Regions from separate parts of the Homo sapiens genome. Here region 1 is linked to region 2. The links are contacts of gene promoters, found by promoter capture Hi-C in human tissues and cell types (Jung and others, 2019). All regions are on one chromosome and are shown on one strand. The core of a region is centred on a gene start or on the middle of the fragment in contact, and the rest is flanking DNA. Distances in the headings are between cores, read along the strand shown. Region 1 overlaps PKNOX2 (PBX/knotted 1 homeobox 2). Region 2 holds the start of ROBO3 (roundabout guidance receptor 3).

Region 1 (6,671 bases), core at 1,458-3,957, 530 kb after region 2:
TTAAGTACCTTATCCTGTGCTCATTACACTGAGAGACATAGACCAAGATGTTCGTGGCCAAAGTCAAGTAGAACATTAGGCAAGAACAAATCTTTATTAAGTACTTAACTCCACTTTGGGGTCCAAATGATCCATTCTAAAGTCACAATTTTCCTCTTTGCTTAGGATGGCTCAGTCTCCCTCAGTCTCAGCCCCACAGAGGTGGTACTTCTTAGGAGGAGACCTTGTGACTGAGCCCTGCATGACGACACACAATCGCTGCTTTCTGTCTTTGAGTGACACTTGGTCTAATTTAGTACTCCAAAAACCCTTAATTAGTTGAGCACAATCCCTGCTCATCAGACAAGCCACAAGCCCAGCCCAGGGAATGTGGGCTCCCCACTTGAAATGCCAATGAGGCTCAGAGAAGGGTGTAATGCTGGCTTCAAGCCACACTTCTCTACACACACCTCACAGTCACAATTCTCTGGGAGAGATTTCCTTCCTTGTTTCCATCCCTTTTTATATTGTCCAAACTCTCCTCTAGGCATCCAGGAGCTAGCCAAAAGCTAGGAGGGTGGGACTAAAAAGAGATCCCATATATTGCTTGCGTCAACATAAATGGATCTGGAAAAGCAATAAGCATCACCCGCTCCTAGCGGTTACATTTAATTTTGATATAAATGTAGATTCACATGCAGTTATAAGAACTCATACAGAGAGCTCCTGATTCACATCTTGTATAACCATAGCACAATTTCACAGCCAGGAACAATCCACCAACTGTATTCAGATTTCACCAGTTTTACGTGCCCTCGTGTGTGTGTGTGTGTGTGTGTGTACATGTAATTAGTTCTGTGCAATTTTATCATATACTTAGATCCACATAAACATTGTTATAGCAAAGTACAGAACAGTTCCTCCCTCCCTCCTCCACTCTACCGCTGTCAACCACTAATCTGTCTTTCTGTCTTCCATCTCTATAATTTTGTCATTTCAAAAACGTTTTGTAAATGGCATCATATAGTATATAATCCTTTGAGACTGGCTTTTGTCTCTCAGGAAAATTCCCTTGCAATCTATCCACATTGTTGGGCATATCAATAGCTCATTCTTTTTTATTGCTGAGTTATATTCCATGATATGGATGAATTACAGTTTCTTTATCCATTCACCCATTGAAGTACATTTGGGTTGTTTCCGATTTTTGACTATTAGAAGTAAAGCTGCTTTGAACAATTTGTATACAGGTTTTTGTAAGAACATATGTTTTTATTTCTCTGGGATAAATGCCCAAGAGTACAATTGCTGGGTCATATGGTACGCACATATTTAGTTTTGTAAGAAATTGTCATACTGTTTTCCAGAGTGGCTGTACCATTTTACACTCTTAACAGCAATGTCTGAGTGTTCTAGTCTCCAGTTCCTCACCAGCATTTGGTGTTGTCATATTTATTTCTTTTATTTTAACCATACCAATAGGTGTGTAGTGATATCTCATTGTGGTTTTAATTTGCATTTCCCTAGTGACTAATGACATTGAATATCTTCTCTTGTGCTTATTTGCCATCTGTATATCCTCTTCAGTGAAATGTCTAATCATGTCTTATGACCATGTTCTAATTGGGTTGCTTGTTATTTTACTGTTTTGTTTTGAGAGTTCTTTATATATCCTAGATACAAGTCCTTTGTCAGGTACTTGGTTTGCAAATATTCTCCTCCAGTATGTAGTCTTTTCCTCTTCTTCACAGGGTCTTTTGAAGAGTAAACATTTTTAATTTTGACAGCGTCCAGTTCCTCACTGGATCATCTTTTTTTTTTTTTTTTTTTAGATGGAGTTGCGCTCTGTCGCCCAAGCTGGAGTGCAGTGGCTCCATCTCGGCTCACTGTAACGTCCACCTCCTGGGTTCAAGCGATTCTCCTGCCTCAGCCTCCCAAGTAGCTGGGACTTCAGGCATGCACAACCACCACTGGCTAATTTTTGTAATTTTAGTAGATATGGGGTTTCACCATGTTGGCCAGGCTGGTCTCAAACTCCTGACCTCAAGTGATCCTCCTGCCTCGATGTCCCAAAGTGCTGGGATTACAGGCGTGAGCCACTGTGCCCAGCCTGGATCATGCTTTTGGTGTCAACTCTAAGATCTCTTTGCCTCACCCTAGATCCTGAAGATTTTTTCCTGTTTTTTTTTAAGAGGTTTATAGTTTTCTGTCTTACATTTATGTCTTTGATCCATTTTGAGTTAATCTCATCTAAGGTATGAGGTTTAAATCAAGATTCAGTTTTTTTGCATGTGGATGTCTAATTATTCTAGCACCATTTGAACAACCCCCTGTTGAAAAGCAATTTGGCAATATTTATCATAATCCACAAGAACGTTCATAGCTTTTTTTCCTGTCACTTCTGGGAATTCATCCTAAAGAATAATGCAGAAACTTTTAAAAAAAAAAAAAAAAAGCTATAAGCTTAGAAAATATTCACTGTAACATTTTTTATAAAATTGAAAAATTGGAAGTAATCTAAATACCTAACAATAGGAGACTGGTTAAGTATGGCACACACATGAAATAATATGCAACATTTAAAAATATGTTTACTCAATAACTTTCACCCATTCAGCAAATGTTTACTCCATATCCATATGTGTTCGTGCTGAAGATAACATGGTGAGCAAATTAGACATCATCCCTGCCTTCTCAAAGCTCATAGTCTAGAAGAGAGGATAGAGAAAACAATTCTGGCACTTAGAAAAATAGATTTGCTAAACTAGAGGGAAAAAACAGAAAACAAAATTGCATGCACAAGGTTATTGAAACTATGTTAAAATATATGGGTGTAGGAAAAAATCATTCTTTAAGGCGATTGGATCGAAGACAGGTTTTTTTCACCCTGCTTTCCATACCTTCCATAGTATTTTCTTTTTATGATAATAACAGCAGTAAAGAGCAAAGCTTCAATTGCAAAATAGCTTCTTGCCACGAAAAGGTTAGGAATGTCCATTTGAAGAGGCAGCAGGCTCCCGTACAGCAATCCAAAGGGCATGGAAAAGGCCACAGCAGACAGTGAGGTAGCTGGTGCCCAGCTAAGTCATGCTGGATTATTCAGTCCATCAGCAAGTATCCACAGAGCGTCCACAAGGTAACCGGTATCCCATGAGGCACTCAGAATGCTTGTTTAAGAATAGACAGTCCCTGAGCTCTAGAGGCACTTATAAGAAATTCTGATCTCCATCTTCCTCAGGCTTGCCTGGTCCTTCACACCTCACAATGTGCTACCATGTATACGCCCTCATACAATACTCACAACAAACCTGTAAAGTTGTCAGGGAGAATCTAATTATCCCCATTTGTTAGCCACTAAGGCACAGAGAGCTTGAGCAACTTGCCCAAGCTCACACAGATAGTAAATGACAGGCCGGGGGCTTGGACCTGGCCTCCCATCGCTAAGGCCAATGCTGTTCTCAGAATACCACAACTGCCTCAAGAACAGCTGTGATAACAGAGGGCTCAGAGCAAAGGAATAATTAGCAGAGAGCCATCATTAGAACTGAAGTCATGGGGATGAGAAGGCACCGCCTACCACTTCTGGGCCTTTTGGCCAAGATCAAGTGTAGGAAGCATGAGCTACGGCAGGGGGTGGGCTCCCCTCCCCTGGGGTGGTGGGGGCTGGGGGTCCAGGCAGTGAGGGAAATGGGATGCAAACACCTGGGCTCACCTCTCCTCCCTCTCCACAGATGGTGAAGGCAATCCAGGTCCTGAGAATCCACCTGCTGGAGCTGGAGAAAGTCAATGAACTCTGCAAGGACTTTTGTAACCGTTACATCACCTGCCTCAAAACCAAGATGCACAGCGACAACCTGCTCAGGAATGATCTAGGGGGGCCCTACTCCCCCAACCAGCCCTCCATCAACCTTCACTCACAGGTAACACCCAGAGCTGGGTCCCATCTCTTAAGCCAGGCTCCTAAGCCCAGCTCTGGAGCCACGCGTGGAGGAAGGTCCCCTGGTGACCTTCACTGGGTTAGACCCACTGGGTTCCTTTGCCATGAGGGCCCTCCTCTGATGCACTCTTCTTCATATCCATTAGGCCATCCCATCCCTTTTTTACACACAGTCTGCCCTGCCAGGGCATTAGTATTCCCTTGAAAATGACCAGATCGGAGAGGGACAATGTCCAAAATCATTCCTGGCTTCCTGGCCCAAGGTATCCCCCAGAATGAGCACCAGAGCTAAGGAGAAGGAAAGCTCTCCTGGAGGATGAGCTGGGACAGGCTTCTTAAGAGGCTGCGGCTTGCTGAGCCATCTGCATTTCTGGGAAAGGGCATTTGGGGAAAGCAGTCATTCCCTGAATCCTGCCCACCTAATGGGTGAAGCCAGCTTCCCATGGGCCTGCTGCTCCCTAATCATTCTCCAGGCACTCACGCTACTCTGGCATCTCTGTCCCCCTAAGGTTCAGGGCCATGGTCAAGGTCACCTCAAACCACCCTGTTCCCAGGTTCCCCTGCCACCTCCTTCCTGAGACCTGGGAAATGCAGAAATGCTGACTACACGCTTTGGGCAAGATGGGGTTTCCCCTCCAGGGCAGGATATTTTCCCCAAACCTACAAACCGAGAAAGCTGCCTGGCAATACCTTCCCGCCCAACTCACAGACATCTGCATAAGCCACAGGCTTGAGACTTTGTTCCCCTTCCACTGAGCTCCTGAGTCCTGGAAGACACCTGGAGGGTCCCCAAGGAGTCCTCTGTAGCCTCTTCTCATTAAACAATCAGGCATGGGGATGCAGGTAAACTTTCTAGGAGTGAGTGCCGAGAGGTGCTGGAAGTAGTGCCAAAGAAAGGCTGTGCCGTTTTTGTCCCTAGACCCCTAAGGAACCACCCATGTACTCTATCTCCCCAGATTGGTGGAGTCAGGGGAGGGGACAGGCTGACTTCTAGAAGGCCAGCCTTGCTTTGCACATTTTGACAACAAGCACAAAAGATACACTCGGTATCACATCCAACCCACCCCAGTGGGCTCTTTGTGAGACTCCGTAGTGAGTACTGCCCAGGACATAGGGCAAGAAGTTTACTTCCTCTTCCTCTCGCTTGAAATCACCAAGTCACTTTATTACAGATCTAAAAACACCCGCCCGGGCTTCTGCCTGCTAATATTCTCTTGAAATAGACTCATTCCTTCAGAGTCTTATTGTACTTTCCCTTATGATCAAAATTAGCAAGAAACTTGCATAAAAGAGGACAATAATTGCTCAACGAGCATCTCGTTTGTAATTTATTAGTTTCTATTATTGTGGGTTACCATGGTGACGCTGCGCAGTCCCGGTGATGGGAGAGATGCAAGATAGGAGCTGAGGAGGCTGTGAGGCCTCGCCAAATGGAGATGCACATTTTTATCAGTAATTTTCATGAAAATAATAAGTGAGGAGTTAATGAGATGGAAAGCCATCCTGTGGCTATTGTGAATTTTTTTTAAGTGTTGATCTAATTAGAATGCATCGGTCAGGAAAAGTAATGAGGATTTAGTGCCTCACAGAGATGTGAGGATCATATCAGAAAATTAGCACAAGTCTTTGGAAATAATCAGGTCCTTGGAGAGGCACTGGATTTCCCCTCCTGGGCCCTCCAACTCCACCTCGAGCTCTGGAGCTGGGGGTGCACCAGGGTAGTGGGGGAAGGAAGGAGGGGCAGAGGGCTTAGCAGCCACCTCAGCCCCCTCAGGGTTGGAGGTCTGAGACTGACAAGTTGGTCTGCAGAAACCAGTCGGTCACTGGAGAAGTGGGGTTTGCAGAAAAGGATAACGCGGACTCTGGATGGTTAAGTTCTCAGAGATGCTGCCACCTGCAAAAATCAGTCCCCCTGGAGAATCCCGGCACTCAGCCTTCTGAGCTTTGAGGAAAGACAGAAGAATTTTGATTCCTATCACTGGAAGCATCAGATCTCTGCCTGGAAGTGAGGCTGGCCCTGGGGTACCCACGGCAGAAAGGCCATTGATCAGCTGGGAAAGAGGAATCAGACAATTGCGTGGTGGGTGTGGGGGAGGGGGTGATGCAAGCGAGGCACTGAGAAAGAGAAAAGACACTAGTGAGGTATTCCTACTTGGTATTACTCAAACTTGTCCCTGCATTTTCTCTGACTGCCACCACCTGCTTTGTTCTGGCTTCGGGGGTAAATACGGTGATTACACATAGGCTATGACAGGAGCTTCCTAACCTGCTCTCCTGGCCATCCCTCAGCCCACCTGCACACCCATGCATCTCTTAAGCTTCTGCTGCTGGATTCATCTTTCTAACTTTGTTCATGTCATTCGCCTGCTCAGAAACCCTGCTTGCCATGCCCCTGGGGGTGGAAGGGAGGGCTTTCACATCTGCCCACCTGACATTCAAGGCCCTCCTAGGTCTGGCTTCAGCCTTCCTGGGTGGGCCAATCTGACTGTTCAAGGTGCTGTAACCATCACTCCATGCCTGTCTGTTCGGGTGACACCTCCCCCACAACCCCATCATCTCTGCACAACCAAACCCAGCTTCTTCCCCAAGGGTAGGAACAAGGCTGCTCACCCAGGAGGACTCCCTGATGCCCCATCCAGAATGGACGCTTCCTGCACTCCACTAACTGGTGGAGCTTGCTGAGCCATCGATATGGCAAAAGTCACTGTGACTTTATATTATAGATCCCTGTGTTCATCTCATTTTCCTATCCTAG
Region 2 (6,459 bases), core at 2,997-5,496:
CTGCCCAGTTGTCTCCAGATTTCCAGTCTTGGTAGAGTGTGTTGCAAAGTGTCTCCCCACAGTCTCCTCCACTGGAACCCTGTGGGGAAAGGGGGACTTTCATGCAGGGGGCCTTGGCTTATTATCTCAGCAGCTATAGGGGTTGAGCCAACACACTCTGGCTCCTGCCGGGGGCAGGCTCCTGCTGTCTGCTTTCCAGCTGGGTGCCTGCTCTTTGCTCTCTGATTCCCCCTCCTGTTTGGTTCTCTGGCCCCTGCTGGCTGGGTCGCTGCCCCCTGGCATCATCACTCTGAAGCCAGCAGCCCTGCTGGGCCATTCACAGGCATACCCTAGTGGGGGTAAGGGGCAGATGTTATTTCTTTGTCCCCCTCCCAGCAAACACACACACACACACACACACACACACACACACACAATCTCACACTCAATATGTATTAATGTCCTGGGAAGGGGTCCAGGCAGAGAGTGATGGCAGGCTACAGGCTCTGGGGGGATGCAAATGGACCGGACAGTGTGTGTGTACATTGGGGGGAGGCAGTGGTAGTAATGGGGGGTTGTCTTCAGACTGCACTCCTGGGCAATTACATGCCAGCAGCTTCATCCACTACCAGCCGGCATGCAGGCTTTAGACCACCAAGAAGCCTCCCCATATGGCCCCAGCTTGGCCACTGAAAATTCCCAGCCACATTCTCTGGCCGATATGCTGGCACTAGGCCAAGAAAGTTAGCCTGGGGTAGCTGTTCTCTCCCCTAGCACGTGAACACACACACACACACTCACACACCAGTGGGGGGTGGGATGGAGAGTTCCTTTAGAGGCTCATGATTCCCAAAACACCACTCTTGTGTAGGGTTCCTGCCTTACTCATAATCACTTGCCCTTCCCATTTCCCATGTTCCTCTGCAAATCCACCCACCCAAAATACCACCATAGGAAAGAAATATTCCTCTTCTATATTACCTCATCAACTCCTGGCCCAGGGCTCTTTTCTAGGGCTCTACCTGTGAACCCACACATGCACACACACGCAAACACACACACACACACACACTTCTTCCCATCAGATGCTGTAACCTTATCAGAACAAACTTAGCTCCTAACTCTACAAATTCAACTCGCCCCAACCTCCCTGCTTCCTGCTACTCTCTCTTCTTTCTGCCAAATCTCCTTCAAAACCTCTGTTTCTTTTTCTTACCCTTTCTAAAGTCTGGACTGTACATATTGTTGGTAAAACTCTGGGAAAGAAGTAGTTTCCTGAGGTGGTAGAAGAGAGGGTCTCTAAACCCAACTCTGACTCTTTCTCCAGCCCAAGGTGGAAATTTATAAGTCAACAGAATGAATGCACCCCGGCTGAGGCTCCTCCAATTGCAGGGCATCTACTCAGTGTTTTAGGTGCTGTACAGGCACTTACAGTTGACAAATTAGGAAATGGACATAGTTGCAAAGAGTTGCATACCCACTCCAGAAAAAGGACAAAGAGTTGTCTTGGTAATTTTCAGAGAGCAGAGCAGGCAGTGAGGAGACTAGTAGGAGGCAAACCCCTTTCAGAACTGCCTATGGGGGTAGCCAGGAGAGAAGCTGGATGTGGACAGGGGCAGGGCCAGTTTCTAGGCTGCCTGTCTGACCCTCAGTAAAGAAGAGAAGGTGGGGAGAGGGCTGCAGAAGAGCTGGGAGGTGTGACTTCTGCTGGGCCTTCTCTGCCCACTCTCTGCTCCACTCTGCCTAGCCCAGGGCCGTAAGGACACTAGAGAATGGGAAGGAAAAGGGAGGGAACTTAGGTTATGGTTGGGAGGTATTTATTCTCTGATATCCCCAGTTGGGAGAACTCAGCCCTCTTGGCTTAGATCTGAGTTTGGTTTAAAAGGAGAGTATCATCAAGATAAAGAGAAGTACAAAGAAGGAAAGAGCAGAGAGAAACAAGAAAAAGTGGAGAGTGAAAATTAGAGAGAGCCCAGACGAGGTGAAGTGTAGGAGAGACAGCAGATTCCTGGAAAGTAGAGTGGCCCGGCTATTTGTCCAGCCTCCAAACCCACGTGACAGGGACTGTGAAGCAGCCTTGCTCACGGGTTGAGCCGCGCCTCCGCTCAGGGAACCCTGAGCAAATACGCCCTGATCCCCACATAAAGGGCCAATTAACTGCGCCGTCTCCGGGAACAAATCCGCTAACAGGGTGACAAGCCCCTAGACGCTGGCAGGCCCTGTGTTTGCGGAGAGGCCAGCCGGGAGCAAATCAGGGCATTAGGACCGGGCAGGAGCCGCATGGTGGGAGGGTTTCTGGCCCCCTCCGCCCCAGAGTAGGGCCTGGTACCAGGACGTGGGGTTTCTATCCCGATTCAGCCTCTGCTGTGATGGAACCCAGGTGACCGCGGTCAGCAGGGGGCGGAGCAAAGGGCCCCGGAGCCTCGAATCTCACAGGTCAGAGTAGATCAAGCACTCCAATTCCTCCTTAACAGATGGGAAAACTGAGATCCAAAGCGGTGACGTCTTGTACTTGGCAAACGTAGAATTAGAACCCACTTCTGTGTTGGTCATTCCTGAAGGATAGATTTCGGGTGGGAAATACATCCCTTACTTTCTCTCTTATCTGAATACCACCCTGGAGCGAGGAAGGGAGGGGCGTCAAATCTCTTATTATCTTCTTGCTTTTGAAAGGATGTGTCTCTAGCCCGTCTCCCACCTACCCCAGTCCTCAGCCTCAGGGTCTGCTCGGATTTATGTCTTCCCTGGGGGCTCCAGGGCCCTAGTCAGGCACCTGCAGATGAGGTGCTGAAAAGGACAGCTCCCAGGGCGCTGCGTGGCGGTGGGGTGGGGGGTCCATCCGGCCCCACCCCCACTCCCACCTACCCCCTCCCCCACACCTAGTGCTTCCAGCCTTTCTACGTCCCGCCCAGAACTGCTAGGGTTGGAAGGCACCTAAACACCCATAGTTGGAGGCTCACAGCCAGGCGCCTGGACTGAGGAAGGAGGCTTGGAACAAGCCCCCCACCCCTTGACAATGTCTCGGGTTCCCTTGAACAAGCTCTGCCTGAAATATTTCAATTCTTGATTCTGCTTACTCCAGAGTCTGCGACTGTATAGCACCCACCCCTCTGATCTCGACCCCTTTGGGGTCAGAAGCAGTCGCCCCATGAAAGTTGTCTCATCCCAGAACCTGACGGCTGAGCCAGAACTCTGGCACTGACTCTTCAATCAGCAGGGCCTTACCTCAGGTTAGGAATGCCCCGGCCTCTCTCTTTCCCTGATACCCCAAAGCCATCTCCTGTCTAGGAAAGTGAGTTTGTCGAGGTGGGTCTTCAGGTAGAAAGAACTCCAGAAAAGTCAGAAGCAGACCGCGACTGGAAGTGGGAGGTGGGAGTAGGGGCCCATGGTTTTCTTTTCGCCCCCCCCAGGAAGGACGACTGCTATCCGATTTGAACAGATTTGCACTAATTTTGCAGCAATCCCACATGCCTTTACAAAAATAATATTATCTTTGTTTTTGTCCTAGAATCCTTGGTTCCATTTCAGTCTCCTCAAAAACGTAAAACAATTTAATAAAAAATGTCAAAGCAGGGTAATGTAAAAGGATTCAAATAAATGACAGTTGCCTGGGTTTCCCTGGCTTTCAGTCTCCTACAGGAACTCCTAGATTAGGGCGTTTGGAGCAGGACTCCCGGGTCAGGGCGCGCCGCTCCATCCTCTGGCCTCCTGGCTGCAGACCAAAGGACCAGAGGGCAGAGAGGTGGACCTGTCTTGGAATTCTCTGCCTACTCCCAACTCTTGCTGCAAACCACCCCAGTCTCCTGCCCTTCCGTCGCCAAACCCCTAGACTTGGGAGGGAATGGAAACCAGAACTTTGGCAGCAAGGAGCATTGCTTGCGCTTTGCCTCAGTTTCCAAAAGGTTCGGGAAAAGAGAGGACAGATTCCTGTTCTAAAGTTGGGCAGAAGGGCAGAGTCCGACAGAGCCTCGTCCCTCATCTTGGGTGCTTTGAGACAGGGAAAATCTCTCGCCGCGTCCAGAACGGAACGCTGGGCTTGGGGTGCGGGGCGGGGACTCCAACTCGCGCGCTACGCTACTCGTGTCTCCTGCTCGGATAGTGACTGTAGAGGTAAGGGTGGGAGGGTGGAGGGAGGCGGATTAATCCCTTAATTACGCCGTGATCGGCGTGGCACCTGCTTTCCGCCTGCCCAGCTCCCAGGGGACTCCGGCACTAGGGGGTGGAGAGAAGGACGAGGGAAGGAGGAGGGCACGAAGAGGCACCGACCGTACCCAGGCGCACCGGCAGGAGAGCGGCACCGTGGCTGCCGCAGCGCGCAGAGGCTGTGGAGGGGCTTACGGCTCCCAGCCCACGGGTCTCAGACCCAGGGGCTGGGCCCCCAGCCCCCAGTCCCGATCCCAGCTGGGTCGAGCCATGCTGCGCTACCTGCTGAAAACGCTGCTGCAGATGAACTTGTTCGCGGACTCTCTGGCCGGGGACATCTCCAACTCCAGCGAGCTGCTCTTGGGCTTCAACTCCTCGCTGGCGGCGCTCAACCACACCCTGCTGCCTCCCGGCGATCCCTCTCTCAACGGTGAGACCCTGCCTCTTGGGGATATGGGATCCTGGGATGGGGATGAGGTGAGAGGGCGGCGTGGAAGGGAAGGAGAAGCGCTCCTGTCCCGAGGTCCGGGATTGAGTGGCGCCTCCCAGCGCCTCCCTGGGTCGTGGGGTCTAAGGGATAATTTGGAGCTTCGAGCACATGAGTGGGGGTACCCGCGGGAGGTCGAGGGCTTGGGAGAAGATGGCTACTGAGTCTTTTTACACCTCCTTCCCTTCCCCTACAACGCCCACCCCAGGTGAGAAGAACCGTTGCTGGTAACGGGCAGGGAAGTCCGAGCTAAGAAAGGCCCGGGCCCAGCGCAGGGAGGGCAGAGGAGGGGGCACAGTCTCCCGCCGGCCTCGGCCAAGCCAGGTCACTCGGTGACCCACCCAGGCAGCTGGTCTTCGGAACCCCGAAGTTTCCCAAGAACTCACTTAGGACCAGAGGAAGCCAAAATGCTGGATGTGTTTGCTACGGAGGGGATAGGGGCGGCGATCATTTTAAGGAAACTTAGAAGTTTGTCTTTCAGCGGCGGGACTCTCAGCCGGCCCACCCCGGCAGAGCTGTGGCGGGCGGGCGGAGCTGGCGGCGAGGTCGTTACCGCTAATTACGGTGATTAATAAATGACTGGGACAGCGCGCTCTCCCCTAGCGCCGCGGGGAAGCTGCGGGAGCCGGCCGCCGCCAGCCTGCGGAGAGGCCGGAGCGCGCCCCCTGCCTGCCGCATCGGGAACCCCCGCTTTACCGGGCGCTTTCGCGTGTGGTTCCCTCCAGGTGCACGCGGTCCCCATCCCTCTGCCTCGACCCACTCGAGTCTAGTGACGAGCACTGTGCTGGGGACTCGAAGGTGGAGAGAAAGGAGACCCTGGCAATATGTGTGTGTTCATGTGTGGGGCACATCAGGTGCTGAGGGAGGAGCCCCAGAGCCTCATTAGCATGGCCATTAGCTATTCATTAGGCTGCAGTCGAAGCATCTCCTGAGACCGGGAAGGGTAGAGGGGGAAATTCCAGGGAAAGGGCGCCTGCAGCTGTGTCTACAGGAATTAGGGGGAAAAGGCCGACCAGAAGGGTGTGGTCCGTATAGAAGGATTGGGGAGAAAGACGATGGGGGAGGAGCCCGATTCTCCAACCTCTTGACCCTCCTAGATTTCCAGGAGGTTAAGCACAGATCCCTTCTCGCTGGCACCCCGCAGAGTCCCGCTTCTGCTCACCTAGCGCGTTTACAGAGTGTTTTCACCATACTTTGTCTCATCTAAGCTCGAAACTTAGTGAGGTATGCAAGGAAGGTGTTGACAGACACATTTTGCCGCCGAGAAAACGCTTTATAGAGTGAATGGTGCCCTAATCGTCACAAAAGCAGCATGAAGCAAAACCTAGCGATAACAGATCAGTCCATTTCCATTACACCTGAGGGCTATACCAAGGGGAAAAAAGAATATTGGGGCCTGGTAGAATTTGATTCAGGTAGAGACTGTAGGAGCCAAGATAAGGTGCATATGCTGGGAACACAAGCCCTTAAATAATGGCAGAGTAGTGACGTTTATCCCCCAAGGGCTTTACATACATTATGGTCTTAGAGCAACCCTATCACTGCTCTCACATCACAAAGAAAGAAACTGAGACTGAGAGAAGTTAAATAATTTGCCCAAGTTCTTACAGCTAGGAAGCGTCAAAGTCTGAGATTCCAGCCCTGGTTGGTTCAACAGCAACACTTGCTCTCAATCACTCCAGTGTTGCTCACCACGGGGTGTTCCAAAATTGGGAATGGGAGGAGATGGAGGAGAAGAGAAGGGTGAAAAGCAGAGATTTCCATTTGGAAGGGAGGAGATGGAGAAAATTACTCTCCCAAGTGGGACAGAAATCGATCTTCTTGACTCCAGGCAATTAAAATAAACTCAG

What was found. The method cuts DNA at HindIII sites, captures the fragments that hold promoters and counts their contacts. A contact is called where the count stands out against the background at its distance.
Region 1: a fragment that was not itself captured here is called in contact with the fragment with the promoter of ROBO3 in region 2 in 1 of the 25 tissues and cell types used here (IMR-90 fibroblasts).

Annotation. Positions count from the first base shown.
Region 1 is chr11:125,394,164-125,400,834 of GRCh38, forward strand. PKNOX2 (PBX/knotted 1 homeobox 2) reads left to right here. Exons shown (of 13, transcript NM_001382323.2): 7 at 3,711-3,899. Among named protein-coding and RNA genes, the nearest start is that of FEZ1, 99 kb to the right of the region's middle. The HindIII fragment of the contact is 3,747 bases long and covers 835-4,581 here.
Region 2 is chr11:124,861,186-124,867,644 of GRCh38, forward strand. It overlaps ROBO3 (roundabout guidance receptor 3), which reads left to right and starts at 4,247. Exons shown (of 28, transcript NM_022370.4): 1 at 4,247-4,552. The coding sequence starts at 4,393. RefSeq lists enhancers at 1,722-2,223, 4,563-5,239. The HindIII fragment of the contact is 19,013 bases long and covers 1-6,459 here.